2 separate regions of the Homo sapiens genome follow, and region 1 is linked to region 2. Evidence: promoter capture Hi-C in 16 types of primary human blood cells and fetal thymus (Javierre and others, 2016). All regions are on one chromosome and are shown on one strand. The core of a region is centred on a gene start or on the middle of the fragment in contact, and the rest is flanking DNA. Distances in the headings are between cores, read along the strand shown. Region 1 overlaps CDK17 (cyclin dependent kinase 17). Region 2 holds the start of CFAP54 (cilia and flagella associated protein 54).

The links. The method cuts DNA at HindIII sites, captures the fragments that hold promoters and counts their contacts. A CHiCAGO score of 5 or more calls a contact.
Region 1: a contact is called between a fragment that was not itself captured here and the fragment with the promoter of CFAP54 in region 2, in 3 of 17 cell types (neutrophils, total CD8 T cells and endothelial precursors). The highest score is 6.4, in neutrophils.

The regions. Positions count from the first base shown.
Region 1 is chr12:96,378,107-96,382,719 of GRCh38, reverse strand. The region is part of intron 1 of CDK17 (cyclin dependent kinase 17); the gene reads left to right. Among named protein-coding and RNA genes, the nearest start is that of CDK17, 20 kb to the left of the region's middle. The HindIII fragment of the contact is 6,318 bases long and covers 48-4,613 here.
Region 2 is chr12:96,488,247-96,492,824 of GRCh38, reverse strand. It overlaps CFAP54 (cilia and flagella associated protein 54), which reads right to left and starts at 3,248. Exons shown (of 68, transcript NM_001306084.2): 1 at 2,899-3,248. The coding sequence starts at 3,215. RefSeq lists an enhancer at 3,000-3,209 and a silencer at 3,100-3,394. The HindIII fragment of the contact is 3,410 bases long and covers 394-3,803 here.

The sequences.
Region 1 (4,613 bases), core at 1,957-4,456, 110 kb after region 2:
TATTGTTTTCATGTGTTGAAGCAACCTTGCACCCCAGGAACAAAGCTTACTTAATTATGGTGAATTAACATTTTGATGTGCTGCTGGATTCCATTTGCTAGTATTTTGTTGAGGATTTTTGTGTCTATGTTCATCGGGGATATTGTTCTGAAGTTTTCTTTTTTCATTGTATCTCTGCCAGATTTTGGTATCAGGCTGATGCTGGCTCCCTAGAATGAGTTAGGGAGGAAACCCTCCTTGATATTTTGGAATAGTTTCAGTAGGATTGGTACCAATTTTTCTTTATACGTTTGGTAGAATTCGGCTGTGAATCCATCTGGTCCTGGACTTTTTTTGGTTGGTAGGATTTTTTTTTTTTTTTTTAATTACTGATTCAGTTTTGGAACTTGTTATTTGTCTGTTCAGGTTTTCACTTCCTTCCTGGTTTAATCTTGGGAGGTTGTGTGTTTCCAGGAATTTATCCTTTTCTTCTAGATTTTCTAATTTGTGTGCATAGAGGTGTTGATAGTAGGCTGAATATCTTTTGTATTTATGTTTTCACTATTTTAAATCGGTGCTGTGACAAACTTGAACATGCGATATCCCTTTCCCACCCGCCCACACCATTTTGCATTTCCTTAGGGTAGATAGATGTCTAGAAGTGGAATTCCCAAACCAAAGTCTGTGAACCCTTTTCTGATATCTCTGTTGTACCAGTACCACGAATAATGTGCCACATCTGTTTTTAGTGATATAATTATCTAAAATGTTTGCTTTTGATCATTGGTTTTAGAAAAATATAATTATATTTGCATTTCTTTGATTTCTGGGATGTTGGTCCTCCTCCCACCCCCATTATCCCCACGGATTGCTAAGGAGGAGACTTTGACTGCTCCCTGAATCCTGGCATCTTCTTTTTTTAATTTTTTCTGATATTTGGTTTTTATCAAGTTGTTATATAATAAAAAAAACTAGATAAGTTGTTTTGGTGATCCATCTCTTTTTATATTCATTCCAGCTTATTTTTCAATGCTTTGTAATATATTTTAATATCTAGTGTGGCAAAACACTTAATTTTTTTCTAATAATTTTGATATTCTTATATATGTATTTTTAATTCTACTTTAGTAAATGGCAGGCAAAAAAATGTAGATCTATGGACAGTAGTAGAGTTTATGGGAGGAAAATTGCGGATGATCCTTTCAGCTCACTAGAAGTCTCTATTTTTTTCTTCAAAACTGGTCTCCCTGCTATAAAATTTGAACTGTAGGTATGTCAGTATATCTATAAGAGTTGCCTCCGTAATTGAAATAGACTTCCTGTTACCCGTTGTCTAGGTTGTACACTGTAAAGAGCATCTTTTTTTTTTTTTTTTGTAGGAAAAAATGGTTTTGTACATGGGATGAAACAATGTAAACTCAAAACTTACAGATAAGGGTTAGTTGTATCACTCATCTCTTTGAAAAGTTTATATGAATATCCAGTCAAAACCAACAAGGTATCGCCCTTGAAATGTTATCTATATGGATTTCCAAGGAGACCATAGGACTGTATACTGTCTTGGAATGTCCTCAGAAGGCTTAGAGAGCATCTTGATAAAAGGTTATGTGGTTTATGATAGAGTGTATTAGTTTATTTGTGTTATTACCAAAGATGAACTTATGGTTAAAGATGAATTTAGGATTAACATGACGAGGAAAGAGTGACATTTAGCTGAGGGTATTAAGTAGATGTCTCAGATGAACTGACACTAAAGGTAATTAGCTTTACAAATAGAGAGATGAGAGAAGAGAACCACTTCCTAGGTAGGATAAAAGAACATGTAAAAAAGGGATATGAAAAAAATTTATATTCCTTTAAAAATGTTATTCTCTACCAGCCTAATGAGTATTTCCATGTGATAGAAATAGAGATAAAGGTTGCTCATAGAGGTAGTGGCAGGAAATGAGGTCAAAGAGGGAGATATTCCAGTAAGGAGGCTGTTGAACACTTTTTAGGCAGAATATCATTGTTTTCTATAGTGAAGCCATTGGGAAAGTTGTGTACAATTACAGATGAACTTCTGCAAGTTAAATGGACAACCTTTTGTGATGTTGGTGCTTCAGAAGTACTCTCAAAGGGTTGCTTTACAATATTGAAAATGCTAAAAAATGGCCGGGCACAGTGTCTCACGCCTGTAATCCCAGCACTTTAGGAGGCTGAGGCGGGTGGATCACGAGGTCAGGAGTTCAAGACCAGTCTGGCCAAGATGGCGAAACCCCGTCTCTCTACTAAAAATACAAAAATTAGCCGGGCGTGGTGGTGGATGCTTGGGCGCCTGTAATCCCAGCTACTCGGGAGGCTGAGGCAGAGAATTATATGAACCCAGGAGGCGGAGGTTGCAGTGAGCTGAGATCGCACCATTGCACTCTAGCCTGGGCAACAGGGAAGACTTTGTCTCAAAAAAAAAAAAAAAAACCAGCTAAAAAGAGCTACTTGTGCCTTTTTTGGGTAATTTTTTGGTTCACCTCAGAGACATGAGAATTACTGGTTTTTCTTTTTTGGGTTTTTTTTTTGTTTTTTTTTTGGTCGGGGGACAGAGTCTGCCTCTGTCTCTCAGGCTAGGGTGCATTGGTGCTATCATGGCTCACTGCAGGCTCAACCTCCTGGGTTCAGGTGATCCTCCCACCTCAGCCTCCATAGTAGCTGGGACTACAGGTGTGTGCCACCATGCACAGCTAATTTTTGTATTTTTTGTAGAGATGGGGTCTCACTGTGTTGCCCAGGCTGGTTTCAAACTCCTTGGCTCAAGCGATCCTCCTGCCTTGGCCTTTCAAAGTGCTGGGATTAAAGATGTTAGCTACAGCGCCCAGGGAGAATTGTTTTACTGTCTCTTAGGAGCACTTGGAAATGTGTGTTTAATTTAGAAACTCTGCCATTTTTATCTTCCGATGAGGAAATGTTTCGATATGTTAGAAATTGGTTTCACCATTTTGTTTGGGGAAATAAGAGATATAAATAGTAGATTTACTTCTGGACACGGTGGCTGATGGCTGTAATTCCTGCAAATTTGGGAAGCCAAGGTGAAAGGATTGCTTGAGCCCAGGAGTTTGAGACCAGCCTGGGCAACATAGTGAGATCCCCGTCTCTACAAAAAATGTTTAAGAAATTAGCCAGGCATAGTAATGTGTGCCTGCAGTCCTAGTTACTCAAGAAGCTCAACCTGTGGAAGGATTGCTTAATCCCAGGAATTTGAGGTTGCAGTGAGCTATGATGGCACTGCACTCCAGCCTGGGGGACAGACTTGAGACCCTGTCTCAAAAAAAAAAATTAGATTTAAAAAATATAGAAATGATAGATGCTTTTGTTTAACTATAAATATCAGCATATCTTATAATCAAGAATATAAACATTAATTGTTTCTATAAATTGTTCTGCATTTCTTTAGCCTTTATCTCCCTGCTAATATAGGTGATCATAAATCACTTTCCATTTAACAGTAATTCAGTAAACTTACATACAGGTTCTGATAATATGTTAATTTTAGCAGCTGTACTGCATTTCAGCACTTTAAATTCAACTGAGTTTGACTTGAAATACCTCCATTTTACTAAATTTAGATTTTTTTGGTACATAATTGTCCCTAGGTTTGAGCTACTCTGTCTCATAGTATGTATTTATGCTTCAGAAATTAATATCTTTTTCTTTCTTAGTATTTGAACCTTCAGATTCTTCCACTATTATAACCATTTTAAGTTCTTTTTAAAATTAAACTTATTTTTTTGGGATAGATAAAACTCAAGTATGTAGAAAGATGTACACGAAGTCTTATTTCTTCCTTTGCTTGCTACTTTATTTTCCTTCCACACTTTTTGGTATCCTGTTTATCCTTCCAGTGTTTTCCTTTTGTAGTTACAAACAAATGTGTATTTTATTCTGGAGATCTTTCCATATCTAGATAAAGATCTTTATTTTTAATAGCTTCATAGTATTTTCTTATGTAGATGTACCGTAGTTTAGTCACTCAATCCTTTGTGGCTATTTGGGTTGTTTTCTATTTTTTGCTGTTACAATGCCAAATGAATAACAATATACATGTAACATTTTCTATTTGAACAAGCAATTGTAGATCTTTAGGTCAAGTATTTTCTTCCACTGTCAGCTGAGAGAACCTAGAAGCAACAATATCCCTGTAGCAGTGAGCACACCTGGTGCCCAGATCTTGGTTTCTAACACCATTCTCCAGTAAAAGGAACCAGGCCTTTGTGGAGAAATGGCTGATTCTAGGACTGGGGCAGCTAATAAAACTGTAAGATCAACCTGGAGTATCTTGTAGTGCTGGAAAGGAAGGAACTATTCAAACAAAAACACGAATGAGTTATGTCAAAGGGACACAGCCAACTGAAAGAGTTCCCAGTAGCCAATACTGGAATAATTTGAGCAACAAAAAAGTAATATTGAATTATAACCCAAAGTATAAAATAATATCCATGAGTTCATGCTGATAGAAGTAAATGACTGACTAAATAAATAAATGGGGGAAGAATAGACAAATCTGTGCATAATTAGATACACAGCCCTCAAGGAAGTATAATACAACTCCCCACCTTTCAAGTGTGAGCTACATGAGGTGACTTCCTGCCAATAAGTACCAT
Region 2 (4,578 bases), core at 1,999-4,498:
GACAGAGTTTTGCCATGTTGGCCAGGCTGATCTTGAACTCCTGACTGCAGGTGATCTGCCTGCCTCAGCCTCCCAGAGTGCTGGGATTACAGGCGTAAGCCACTGCACCAGGCCAAGGATAATAACTCTTGAATCCTTTCAATACTAAATATTTATTGAATGTTTATTATGTCCCAACCCCCAGGCTAAGTGCCAGAAATACAGCAATGAAAAAGAAACACATCCAAAGTCACCAGGGAGCTTACATCCTAATGAGACAGACAATACACAAGAAAACAAATCGATTAAAAAATATAAACCTATGAGTGAATCTGCATTCGATAGGAAAGGCCACTCTAAGGAGGTGACAACTGAGCTGAGGCCTGAAAAAAGGAGCCAGATTTTTGAAAAGCTTGGGGAAGAACATTCAGACAACAAAGATGGCAAATATAAAGGCTCTGGGGTGAGAAACAGTAGGACCTGTTTCTCTGGAAAGTCCTGAGAGAGAAGTGAGGGATGAGCTGAGCTCAGAAAGGCAGGCAGGGTCAACACCTCAGCCCCTGGAGAGTATCAGAATTCTTAAGTTTATTCCAAAAGCAATGGGAAGCAATAGAAAGACTTTAGATAAGATTTGTAAAGATCATCCTGACTGCTAGGTGAAGGATAGATTGGAGACAGAGTGGCTGCAGGGAAAATGTGAAATGGTGGTGGTTTGGACTGGAACGCTGGTAGTGGAGATGGGGAGATGAAGTTCAAAGATAAAAACCATTTAAATATAAATGTATAAGCCGGGCAAGGTGGCTCATGCCTGTAACCTCAGCAATCTTGGAGGCCAAGGCGGGTGGATCACCTGAGGTCAGGAGTTTGAGACCAGCCTGGCCAACATGGCGAAACCCCATCTCTACTAAAAATACAAAAATTAGCCGGGCGTGGTAGCAGGCACCTGTAGTCCCAGCTACTCAGAAGGCTGAGGCACAAGAATCGCTTAAACCTGGGAGGCAGAGGTTGCAGTAAGCTGAGATCGCAGCAGTACACTCCAGCCTGGGGTACAGAGTGAGACTCCCTATCAATAAATAAATAAATAAAGCATATAGAGTAGGTATATAATGGGCTTTCCTTGGTCAATTCTTGGTTCTCATCTTACTTGGCCAGTCAGCAGAATTTGCCACAGTTGATCATTCCTTTCTTCCTGAAATACTTTCTCTACCTGCTTCTAGTACACCAGGCACTTAATGGTTTTCCACTGGCCCCTCCTCCTTAGTCTCTGTTGGTTTCTTCTTATTGCCTCTCCCTGTCCATGCTGGAGCATCCCAGGGCTCAATCCTTGGACTCTTCCCTTCTCCATTTACACACACACTCCCTTAGCTATTCATCAAGTGTCATCATTTAAATATCATATGAATCCCAAATGTATATCTCATCTGACTTCCAGATTCAAATGTCCAACTACCTACATAGTAGCTCCACCTGGATGCTGAATCACATCTCAATTTTTATAAAAGTAAACTCTTGATCTCCCTCCCTCTTGCTCTTCCCACAATACAATTCCACCCCAGGTCTTTCCCATCTGCCATTCTCCCTGTGTGACCTACTTTTTGCACAAAAATCCTCATCAATTGCTCCCATATCTTTCTCATCTTTCTCAAAAGCAACTTTTCCTGACCTTCCCTAACCAGGCTTCTCACCACCCCATTTAAAATTGCAACACTCAGGCCAGGCGCAGTAGCTCATGCCTGTAATCCAATACTTTGGGAGGTCAAGGTGGGAGGATCCCTTGAGCCCCCAAGTTCAAGGTTTCAGTGAGCCAGGATTGAGCCACTGCACAACAGCCTGTGCAAGAGTGAGACCCTGTCTCAAAAAAAAAAGATAAAATTGCAACATTCATCTCATATCCTCCAACACCATTCCCTGTTCTATTTTTCTCCCTAGCAGTCATCTCCTTGTAAGATTATTTACTTACATATTTGTTTAGTGGTTGTTTATACCCACAAAAACATATGCTCTATAAGGACATGGATTCTTATATGTTTTGTTAACTTGATGTTTTCCTAGTTCCTTGAACAGCACTTGATATACAGTATGTGCTCAATAAATAGTTGTTATATGCATAAATAAAAAATATTTTATTTTATTTATTTATTATTATTATTTTTTGAGAAGGAGTCTTGCTCTGTCGCCCAGGCTGGAGTGTAGTGGCGCGATCCCAGCTCACTGCAACCTCTGCCTCCCGGGTTCAAGCAATTCTCCTGCCTCAGCCTCCTGAGTAGCTGGGAGTACAGGCATGTGCCACCATGCCCAGCTAATTTTCGTATTTTGTATTCATGTATAAATTTTTGGCTCGCTCAAGGGTTTCACAACTTTCCATGTTATGAGTATATAAATTTGTATATGGAGAAAAAGGAATAACTTCGAGGTAGCTCAGGTTCATGAAGCTAGCTCTTGATACAATGAAGTATGTCATCCTGTGAACATGTGCACTTTAATTCCTTCTTATATTGCTATTAGGATTACAGTGACTTTTTCTTAATTTTGCTATTCATTCTGCGCAACTGTTTGCCTTTTTGGGAGTTCTATCACCATGTTATTACTGCAAACTGCGAACTCTTTTTAAGGTTCTTTCCTGCTTATGTTACCATCTTTCTTTTCTGGTCAAATAACAAATGGTGAGTTATGAAACATTTCTGTGTAGATTTTTATTTTGACCTGAGCAGGAAGCCAAGATATAACAGCTCCCAGGAATTAAGGATTGTTAAGAGCGACGAGTCTCCACTTCTTAAACTTTGTCTCTCCTGGGCCCTTCAGCCAGCCCCTGCGTCCGCAACGCTGAACCATCTCTGGGGCCACCACCTGCATCCTCCAGCCCTTTCCAGGGGTCCCTCCTCTGGCCGGCGCCCTCCCCAGTGCCCCGCCAGCGCTTACCAACGCCGGCGGAATTCGTGCTTCTCTTCCTCCGTGGTGGCTAAAGCCTTCTTTTTCCTCATAAAGCCTAACAACTCCTGGATCTCCTTCTCACAAGAGGCCAGGAGCGGGTTTTTCGCGTCCAGCGGCCCATAAAACACGGCTAGGGGCAATGAGTCCTCGGGGCAGGTCCACTGAAGCAGCGAGCTCCGGGAGCTCCCCTTCGACTCTGGGGGCGACCTCGAAGTCGCGGTGGAGGTCGGCGGCAGTTCTGGCAGAGACCCCGAGGTGGTAGAGTCGTCTGACGGAGAGCTCGAGGGGGAGCCCTGCGCCGCCATATTGACGCGCCCCGGCCCGCCTGGAGTATGTGTACACGCGGTTGCCTGGCGACGGTCTCGTGGCAACCGGGCATCCCGCGCGCATTCCGAGAAACACAGCGGCCCCTGGAGGGCAGAGCGAGAAAGAACCAGGTCCAGAAAACAATGATGCTCCTGAGGGCGTTGCCTGGTTGTGCGCTGGCACCGCTGTATGAAATGCGAACAGAGAATGTTCTGAGCAGAGCGCTGGCGAATATTAGAGCCAAAAATTTAAGGTCACAAATCCAGACTATACTCTTTATCCATGTTGGCCACTTAATAACGATAATGATGACGACCATGACCATTAACGTGTGTCAGGCATTAAGCATTTGAAACATGTACTTTCATTTATCTCATTTAATCATCATAACTACTTTACAACTTAGGATACTATTAGTATATCCATCTCACAGTTTAGGAAACCAAAGCTCAAGGAGGTTAAGTCATTTGACAAAAGTCAGCGTACAACCGTAGTGTCAGCGACCAGGTCCTCCAAAGGGAACTTGTGACTCCAAAGCCTGTGCTCAAAATGAATAGGCTGTATTGATCACTCCCCAAAACAAAGCTTATTAATCAAATTGAAATTAGAGAAATATCTGACAAGCAGTTTAAGAATCAAATACAGTTGGCCCTCCAAATCTCGGGTTCTTCATCTGTGGATTCAAGCAACTCCAGATTGTAAATATTCAGAACAAAATTAGAAATAACAATACAACAATAAAAATAACACAAAATACAACTATTTACATGGCATTTATACTGTATTAGGTATTACTAGTTATCTAGAGATGATTTAAAACATCCTGAAGGATGTGCACAAATTATATGCAAATACTACAGCATTTCATATCAGAGGCTTGAGCATCCACAGATTTTGGTATCTGCGGGTGTCATGGAACTAGTCCCCCACAGATAGCCAGGGAGTACTGAATATGCAGCTGATCCATTCTCTTTCCTCTATTTGTACCTTGAGGTCTGTAACTGTGGACATGATGTCTATGCCTCTAATAATTATGATTACATCTATTTATGCACATTCCAGCCTTACTTTAATTATCTCTGTATTCTAAATTAATGTGCATTTTGCTCAACCTTAACCATAGGACATTAATACATACTAGTGGCCTGAAGTGTTAACTCTCAAAATACTTTGCATTTTAAACAGGGCTTTTAGGAGACTTTACTTCTGATGGGGAAACTACAGACCTCCAGGGAAATACTTGGGGAGTTTATTCTTAGCCTGTGTATTATAGGCAAAAGTCAGAGTTAAATTTATTAAAGTATGAGTATTGAGAAAATGGAGAACCTTCTTTTCTATAAATTATGCAACACAATAAATTAT